Regions from separate parts of the Homo sapiens genome. Here regions 2 and 3 are each linked to region 1. Evidence: promoter capture Hi-C in human tissues and cell types (Jung and others, 2019). All regions are on one chromosome and are shown on one strand. Each heading gives the region's core, a stretch centred on a gene start or on the middle of the fragment in contact. The rest is flanking DNA. Distances are from core to core; before and after follow the strand shown.

The links. The method cuts DNA at HindIII sites, captures the fragments that hold promoters and counts their contacts. A contact is called where the count stands out against the background at its distance.
Region 2: a fragment that was not itself captured here is called in contact with the fragment with the promoter of GFOD2 in region 1 in 1 of the 25 tissues and cell types used here (bladder).
Region 3: the fragment with the promoter of SLC7A6OS here is called in contact with the fragment with the promoter of GFOD2 in region 1 in 2 of the 25 tissues and cell types used here (heart right ventricle and spleen).

Annotation. Positions count from the first base shown.
Region 1 is chr16:67,717,668-67,720,786 of GRCh38, reverse strand. It overlaps GFOD2 (Gfo/Idh/MocA-like oxidoreductase domain containing 2), which reads left to right and starts at 1,471. Exons shown (of 3, transcript NM_030819.4): 1 at 1,471-1,624. RefSeq lists silencers at 1,554-1,603, 1,664-1,713 and an enhancer at 2,074-2,153. The HindIII fragment of the contact is 6,116 bases long and covers 1-3,004 here.
Region 2 is chr16:67,101,093-67,104,211 of GRCh38, reverse strand. No RefSeq gene overlaps it. Among named protein-coding and RNA genes, the nearest start is that of PHAF1, 7.3 kb to the left of the region's middle. The HindIII fragment of the contact is 4,683 bases long and covers 1-3,119 here.
Region 3 is chr16:68,309,510-68,312,628 of GRCh38, reverse strand. It overlaps SLC7A6OS (solute carrier family 7 member 6 opposite strand), which reads left to right and starts at 1,683. Exons shown (of 5, transcript NM_032178.3): 1 at 1,683-1,894; 2 at 2,016-2,294. The coding sequence starts at 1,703. It overlaps PRMT7 (protein arginine methyltransferase 7), which reads right to left and starts at 1,610. Exons shown (of 19, transcript NM_019023.5): 1 at 1,530-1,610; 2 at 453-587. RefSeq lists an enhancer at 1,714-2,678. The HindIII fragment of the contact is 13,375 bases long and covers 1-3,119 here.

The sequences.
Region 1 (3,119 bases), core at 222-2,721:
TATGGATGTTCACAGTGATCGCCACCAGCTAATTAAAAGCTCAATCCTGTGTTAAAATGTGTTGCTTAACCCTGCACTTTCCAAACTTAAGTTACTACAGACTGTGTCACTCAGCAGAATCTTACAGGACTATTACTCTATAGAATGCTCTTAGGGAAGAGGTAGCATAAAGGGGAAAATATGGGTTTTAGATTAAGCATAAAGTCCTGGTTCTATATAAGTAAAGCCAGAGTAGGCTCATTTCCCCCTAGACTAGTGGTTCTCAACTGGGAATGATTTTGCTCCCAGGGAGACACTTGGCAATGTCTGGAGATATTTTTGGTAGTCACAACTGGGCTTGGGGTGCTACTGGCATCTACTGGGTAGAGCCAGGGATGCTGCCAAACATCCTACAATGCAGACAGCTCCCCCCACCCCTGCCCAACAAAGAATTATCAGGTCCAAAATGTCAATAGTGCCACTGTTGAGAAATCCTACTCAAGAAGAGTGGAACTCCGAACAATGACTAAGAAACAGATCAAACAGGCACATTTTGACTCTGCCTTCCTTCTGCCTGGCTCTAGAGGATCCAGGAGAGAAAGGATAAAATCCCATCAGAAGAGGGGGGGTTTAGGGGTTACAACTTCTCATCACTTTGGAAGCCTTCCATGCTCCTCACAGAGGTGGTAGGAGTCCTGTCTCCGCTCAAAGCAGGGATAGCTCTGCTGCTAGTTAGCATATCTCAGTAGGAACTGCCTCACGCTTAGGTCAGCTGACATATTCTGTCACCACAGGCTGCTCTGGAATGATGGCTGGGAGATCATCCTAATGCCAGCTGAGTGGGGATCTTGATACTCAGCAGGAGGGTCAGACAAGCAGGGACGGGGGCTCCCCATGCAGATACAAACCCCAATCACATTTCCTACACAGGCAGTTTTATTCTAAGGTCTAACGGCTTCCTTACTCTAGCGGATAGTTTGCTATTTGGTGGGGCATAGGCTTCAGTAAAGAGGCCAAGGGGACTGAGGTTACAGTCTTGAAGAGCACTGATATTTAAGGAACAATCAAAAAACATCCAGAGGAAGAGGAGCCCAGACAGGCACCTGAGAAAACGGAAAAACGAGTCACTGGGGGTCAGGGAGCCAGGAAGTCCGACGAGTTCGAGAGAACTGGCCTTCTGCAGATATGTCCTTGTCCAACACGAAACCGTCTTTCATTCCAGGACAACTGAGGCTACCCACAGCTACCAAAACCTGGTCCCTGACGCCGGTCAGCGGACCGGAGAGAAGCCAAGCTTAGGAAACTGCCGCCTCCGCCGCCGGAAATGAATAACCTGAGCCTCCTAGCCAGGCTGCTTAAGCTCCGCCCCCAAAAAGCGAGCATGCGCAGCTCCCGGCTACGGCCCCTCCCAGCGCAGGCCCATCCCCGTTATGGAGCATGCGCAGTCCTCCTGCCGTCCCGCCCCTCCCTTTCCAGAGCCCCCAGTTCCTTAGAAACCAGGCGGCGCGTTCCCGGTGGCGGCGCCCTGGACTCCCGGGCCCGCGCATCCCCGCCAGCCTTCCTTAAGGCGGATGGGTGGCCCCCGAGACCCCGTCGGACCCATGGTTTCCAGTGCAGCGCGGAGTGGGCGATGCCAGCGTGCCAGGTGAGAGGCGGCCACCGGTGGCGGGTGAGGGCGAAAGAGGGCATGGCGCGGCCGGGAGCGGGCGCCGACAGGGCCTTCTCCGCGGCCCGGCGCCGGAGGTTGGAGGCGTGGACCCGCAGAGCCGGGGTTGGAGGGGGCTTGTTCCAACTGCCTGCAGGCGCGTGGAGTGGAGGGTCGCCTTGGGATTCGCCCTTTCCACCGCAGAAATAGGACCCGCAGGCTTGGTGGTAGAATTATAGGATTTGGGATCCTGGAAGAACCTGAGACATAACCCATCCTTTTACCAGATGCAAAAACCTAGTCTCCCCCGCCCTGTGCCGAGCGGACCACCTGACTGTGTGAGGATGGACGCTTTGTGGATGAGGATGTGTGAGGTGTAGAAGCTCAGACAAAGGGCTCGTGGGGTAGCTGGTTCGTCCCCTTTCAGAATGAGATGGGACTTTTGGGGATAAATCTTTAAGAAACGGGTGTTCAGTTGACAGGTGGAAGAAGGGACACCCCAGAAGGTGCGAGTGGCTCTGCCAGCTCCCATGTGCCCTATGGCCACGTCTCAATGGCCCTGGCCTACCTTTGTATTTGTAGCTCTGGAAGGAAGCAGATGGACTTGAGACAAAAGGTGAAGTGAGGTCTTCCCATCAAGGCCCTATCACACTTAAAAGGTGAGGGAGGAAGAGTGGACAGGGACATGAGGGCTTGGGAATGGTTGTGTGAAGAGTTTACCCTCCAGACTACAGCACGATCTAAAGAACAAGGCAGGATAGAAGAGTTGAAAGCTGTATTGGATAGGCATCAGGGAAGCTTATTTAACTGTCTTATTTATGTTCATTGTTCCCATAATGTTATCCTGAGGGCAAGAAAGTGGATGTCCTTTTAAATGTCCAGAAAGAACTAGGGCAGGGCACCACCTTTGTGATCTGTGGGGCCCAAAAGCCTCTAAAGGAATAGCCCTTAGTGTGTGGCCCTTAAGTTGAAGGGAACAGCATTTAATTTAGAAAAGGAAGGCACTTAAATTTATTGTGATATGGAGCAATATAGAGAAGATGGTTGTTTTTGAGTCGGGGAAGCTAGATTCATTCTTGATAAGGAAACTTATTTCCTTCTGGAAAGCTACACTAGAGAACAAAAGAGTTTTAAGGCCATCCATTTTACAGGAAACGTGAAAAAATTAACTGCTTTGGGATTGGGAGTTTAGAGAACCTGCCTGGACCAAGAGAGGAAATTTTCAACAGACGGTTCTGTTGGTCGAATCCTTATTTCACAGATAAAGATTCTGTTGTGAGAGGTTATCTCTTACCACCTGGTTTTCCCACTTTGCCATGGAATAATCATTGGTCTGGGTCTAATTCTCTATCTATCTATCTATCTATCTATCGAGACGGAGTCTCACTCTGTCACCCAGACTGGAGTGCAGTGGTGCGATCTCGGCTCACTGCAATCTCCGCCTCCCAGGTTCAAGCGATTCTCTGGCCTCAACCTCCTGAGTAGCTGGGACTAC
Region 2 (3,119 bases), core at 392-2,891, 620 kb after region 1:
AAACTTGCCAAGCTATTGGCTAGCTACCTGCAATACCTTCTCTAGCTAGCTTAAGGTCTGCCATCCTTCAGATCTTAGCTCAAACATCTCTTTTTTTATTTTTGAGACGGAGTTTCACTCTTTCGCCCAGGCTGGAGTGCAGTGGTGCAATCTCGGCTCGCTGCAAGCTCCGCCTGCTGGGTGCATGCCATTCTCTTGCCTCAGCCTCCCAAGTAGCTGGGACTACAGGCGCCCGCCACCACGCCCAGCTAATTTTTTGTATTTTTTAGTAGAGACGGGGTTTCACCATGTTAGCCAGGATGGTCTTGATCTCCTGACCTTGTGATCCACCCGCCTCGGCCTCCCAAAGTGCTGGGATTACAGGCGTGAGCCACCGCACCCACCCTCAAAACATCTCTTTAGGGAAGCTTTTATTCACCACCCAGACTAGAATAGATGTACTATAAGAGCCAGTACTTCTAATGTAACTTAAACAGTGTTACTGCCTTTGGTCAGCTTTTTAGCTAGACTGTAGATTCCTTGTGAGCAGGGAACATGTTTATTTTGGACACTGGATATTTCCCCCCCTAAATGATAACCATACTTTTAGTCTCCAAAAAAAAAATAGAACTTCAACATTTTCCATTTTTATTTTTATAGGTAATATCTTGCTCTGGTGGCCCAGGATGGAGTGCGGTGGCAAGATCATAGCTCACTGCAACCTCAAAATCCTCGGCTCATGCGATCTTCCCACTCCAGCCTCCCAAGTAGCTGGGACTTAGAGGTGTGCACCACCATGCCTGGCTAATTAAGAAAAATATTTTTGTGCAGATGAAGGTCTTGCTATCTTGCCCAGGCTGGTCTTGAGCTCCTGGCCTCAAGCAATCCTCCTGCCTCAGCCCCCCAAAGTGCTGGGATTACAGATATGAGCTACTGTGCCTGGCCTTTTATTTTTATCTACAACATCTCCTCAACATTTCTGAAATCTGAATGAGGCCAATAACGACCTTAATTCTAAGTTGCTTAAATTTTCTAACCAAAAGCTGGGAGTTGACTAAAACAGTGACTTATCTGTTTCAGAATATTCCATATTTAAACAAACTAAACTGCCATTTCCATCCATGATTTCACCCTGTGACTGTCATTTTTTAGCTTTGGAACATTTCTGAAATGCCATATATGAATATATGATGGTGATGCAAGAAAAGGGGTTGATGCTATCTAGGGGGAATCATGTATTCAAATCTGCAAGACTGAAATCTTACCTTTAAAGAATGTTTAGATTAAAACACCAAAGGTATCTTTTTTTTTTGAGATGGAGTCTCGCCCTGTTGCCCAGGCTGGAGTGCAGTGGTGCGATCTTGGCTCACTGCAAGCTCCACCTCCTGGGTTCGCACCATTCTCCTGCCTCAGCCTCCCGAGTAGCTGGGACTACAGGCGCCCGCCACCACACCCGTCTAATTTTTTGTATTTTTAGTAGAGACGGGGTTTCACCGTTAACCAGGATGGTCTCGATCTCCTGACCTCATGATCTGCCTGCCTCGGCCTCCCAAAGTGCTGGGATTACAGGTGTGAGCCACCGCGCCCGGCAAAACACCAAAGGTATCTTATACTCAGTTACGTATATTTGGTAATATCACCATGGTGGTTTAGAAAGATGTCCACAAATGCTTTGACATCCCCGCCTTCAACAGATGAAGCTTAATATTCCTCCCCCTTTGAGTGTGGACCAGACCCAGTGACTTGATTCTAACATACAATATGGCAGCCCAAGATTCAGTTCTAAGACTGTGCTTTTGGCTGGGCATGGTGGCTCACACCTGTAATCTCAGCACTTTGGGATGCCGAGGCGGACGAATCACTTGAGGTCAGGAATTTGAGACCAGCCTGGCCAACATGGTGAAACCCCGTCTCTATGAAAAATACAAAAATTAGCCGGGCATGTTGATGGGCACCTGTAATCCCAGCTACGTGGGAGGCTGAGGCAGGAGAATCGCTTGAACCCGGGAGGGGGAGGTTGCAGTGAGCTGAGATTGCAGCACTGCAGTCCAGTCAGTCTAGGCAACAGAGCGAGACTCCATCTCAAAAAAAAAAAAAAAAAAAAAAAAAAAAAGACTGTGCTTTCAACTTGGGTGTGCGCTCTCTTGGATCACTTGCCTTGGGGGAAGCCAGCTACCCTGCTGTGCACTGTCCTATGGAAAGACCCAGCTGGGCATGAAATGGAAGCAGGTCTCTGTCCAACATCTAGCAAGGAACATCTGCCTTTCATCTAGCAAGCTGCAAAGAACCGAGGCCAGTCAGTGACCACATTAGTGGGTTTGAAAGGGGATCTTTCATCCAGTCAATCCTTGAGATGACTGTAGCCCAGGATGACTCTAACCTTATGAGGAACTCTGAACCAGAACCATTGATCTTAGCTACTTCCAGATTTGTGACTCACCTGTGGGATAATACGTATTTATTGTTTTAAGCTGCTAAGTTTTGGGGTAATGTGTTATGGATAATACAATGGTTTATAGATTGAAAAGCTCCTCATTGCCAAATGAGGCATAAATCAAGTAAGATATTTTTCACCAAGCAGCCCCGAGCTAGCATATCCAATTATGTTTCTAGAAGTGATATACTTACTAAAACCATGCTGTTACTGCTCAATTTTTTGAAATTAACTCTCAGAGCATGAATCCTACTCTTTGGAATTTCCCTTAATGGTGTCAATTCAGAATTTAAAGGCATTTTTGTCATTTGCAGTAAGTCTTGTGGTTAATGAGTGAATCTGTTTATCATGTGTCAAGCTTAAGGCATACTTTCAAGGAAAAGGGCTTACTTTTCTGTTGTAGGAAAATGCCAGGAGTCTTAAGAATGTTTGATATAACACCAGCACAATCAAAACGGCTGTATATTTCCAAAACAACTAGCTTGAAAGATGGAACTAATTTGGATGTGTAATTTAAAATTCTTTCTCCCAACATCACTACTTTATGGTCATATCTCACAGGATGGGTAAATCAAGCCAGATTTCTTGAAAACCATAATATACACTGGGGGATTTGTATACCTTGTGATACCTATATTTAAAGTAGTCTTCTTTGGAATCAACAGAAATTACCACTAGATGCCACTGTTGTTGCTTTCTTAGAAAT
Region 3 (3,119 bases), core at 434-2,933, 590 kb before region 1:
AGGAGGAAATAGAAACCACCATGCCAAGCCCTAATTGTATTAGCCGTCAGACTGCAGAGCAGATGGTCCACTACATTCATTCAAAATGTATTTGCTAGGCGGTGGTGGCTCACACCTGTGATCCCAGCACTGTGAGGGGCCGAGACGCAAGGATATCGAGTCTGGGAGTTCCAGACCAGCCTGCGCAACATAGTGAGACCCCGTTCTCTACAAAAAATTTTTAAAAAAATTAGCCGGGCGCGGTGGCCTGTGCCTGTAGTCCCAGTTACTCCCAGCTACTCGGGAGGCTGAGGTAGGGGAATCACTTGAGCCCGGGAGGCAGAGGTTGCAGTGAGCAGAGATGGCGCCACTGAACTCCAGCCTGGGTGACAGAGTGAGACCCTGTCTTAAAAAAAAAAATATATATATATATATATATATATAAATATACATATATTAAAATTAAAAATTACCCGAGTGTAGTGGCGCGTGCCTGTAGTCCCAGCTACTCGGTAGGCCGAGGTGAGGATCGCTTGAGCCCAGGAGGTCAAGGCTGCAGTGCGCCTCGATCACACCACTGCACTCAGCCTAGGCAGCAGAGTGAGACTCTGTCTCGAAAAAATAAAATAACAAAATTTATTAAATACCTTCTATGTGCCAGGCACTATATTAGGGACTGGAGCCACCACCACAAGCTAGAGAAGACCCTTGCCCTCCAAGAGCTTAGACTCTAATGAGAGAGTAATACAAATTACAGACTACATGAATGCAAGAAATACACAGAGCGTTGTAGAAAGAGAAAACCAAGGTTACAGAAGGACTCTGAGGAAACTAGCATTTGAGATCTACAAGACAGACCGGGATAAAAGTTGGGGAAGAGTTTTTACAGGTCAGGAATCCTTACCCCAACTTTCCCAAGAAAAGGCCCTAAGGTAGAAAGAACTAGGTTGCATAAGCAAAATGTGCCAAAAGCCTGAGCGACCGAAGCACTTTTGCAGAAGCCCCCCGCTCCTCATCTCCTATCACATCTTCTGCTCAATCAAGCTGGGCCTTGTCGACTTCGGAAAGGCGTTTGGATTTTGTTCTAAAAGCACTGGGAGCCACTCAAGAGTTTTAAGCAGAAGCGTATCTACACTAGGCTTACGCTTTTACAGGACCACTCTGGTTGGCGTGTAGTGAATACACGACTCTCCAATTACTCAGAACAGTGAGTGGCAAAGACAACAGGTCTGGCAATCAGAGAACTCGTGGCCCAGTTAGGGGTGCGATGGTTGGAGCTACTGCGGTCTCTGTGGCTGAGGGGAGGCGCCAGGCACGAGTACTGCGACAGAGCCCCGCGAGTGGCAGGCACCCGGCTGCACTGCAGAGCCGGGGCCAGCCTAGAACCCCGCTCTCCTGCAGGCCCGGGTGTCCCGAGCTGCCCCACGCGGAGGAGTCCAAGTAGGCCCACGCTAGGCTCCTCTGCCGAAACCCTGGTGCCAAGGACACCATGCTCGCTGCACACAGAACCCCAAAGCGACCCCACCTTCCCAGCATACCCAGCGCCTCACCCGCCGCGGGAAACCCTCCGCTCGCCTCCGCTGCTACCACTTTTACCGCGGCCAGCACGCGGGGCGGGACCTCGCAGCGTCGAGGAGCGTGCTGGGGGGCGGGTCCTAAAGCAGAACTGGAAAGCTATCCCATCACACCCCGCGAGCTCCCACAGTGCTCAGCGGCAGCCACTATGGAGGCCGCCAGGACCGCTGTACTCCGGGTGAAGCGGAAGCGCAGTGCGGAGCCGGCGGAGGCTCTTGTGCTCGCTTGTAAACGCCTCCGGAGCGACGCGGTCGAGTCAGCGGCACAGAAGACGTCGGAGGGTTTGGAGAGAGCGGCGGAGAATAATGTCTTCCACTTGGTGGCCACTGTGTGCTCCCAGGTATTGGGCGTGGTGCAGCTGGTGTGGAGGGCATCTTCGGGTGCAGCCGGTACGAAACCCGATCCCTGACCCGCTCGCGAACTCCTGCTTACGCTGGCCTCCGTCCCCTGTTGCCCCCTAGGAGGAACCAGTCCAGCCTCTCCTGCGGGAAGTTCTGCGCCCGTCACGGGACAGCCAGCAGCGTGTCCGCCGTAATCTCCGCGCCTCGGCTCGGGAGGTCCGGCAGGAGGGCCGCTACCGGGTGCTTTCCAGCCGCCGATCCTTGGGGACCACCTCGAGCGGCCAGGAGTCCGAGTACACGCCGGGGAACCCAGAAGCCGCCGGGAACTCGGGCTTTCAGTTGTTAGACCTTGTCCACGAGGAGGGAGAACCTGAAGCCGCCTCTGCAGGCTCCTGCAAAGTGAGTATGCCCCTGAAGGTGGTCGCTGGGCTTCTCAGGATGGTAATGCAAGAAGACTGGGCCCAGTCGCAGCACAGTTTCATCTTAAGGGGATGGATGATCCATCCGGCGTGACGGCCTCATTTTACAGATTTGGTTGTTCATCCAACATGTGTTTACTACGTGCCTACGATATGCCAGGTATTTTTTTAGATTCTGTGGATACAGCAGTGAGGACCTAACATGCAGGTAGACAGAAACAGTAAACAAGTCTATTCAGTGTCAGATGATGATAAGGGATGTAAGGAGGCGGGGAGACAAAGCAGGAAGAGTGGTGCCACTTCAGTGAGAGTGTCACTGAGGAAATGACATTTGAGTGAAGACTTGCAGAAGGTGAATGGCAGGGTATTCCACATATCGAGAGGACTTCTAGGCAGAGAACCTGAAAGTAAAGAGGCCCTTAAGCCGTTTCTTTGCTCCTTGCAAGGTGCCTGGAGCCCGGTGAGCTAGAGGAGAGCAGTAAGGAATTTGAGGGGAGGATGCCTGCTAGGTACTTGCAAGGACATTGCCTTTCACCCTGACTGAGATGGGGATCACTGGAGCAAAATAGAGATAGAGCAGGTAGGAAAATTGATCAAAGAGAGGTTAAAGGAATAGTCCTGGATAGCATATCAAGTTTGAGGTAGATTTAGGTCTAGAATGCAAGTTTTCTCACATTTAATCCAGTGCTTTTCTTTATATTACATTTGCTAACTTCATTTGCAATCACTTCCAAAAAAAGTCTACTACATGCAGCAAAACTACAGAAATGGAAAATTCTCCTTGAGGCTGGGCACAGTAGCTGAC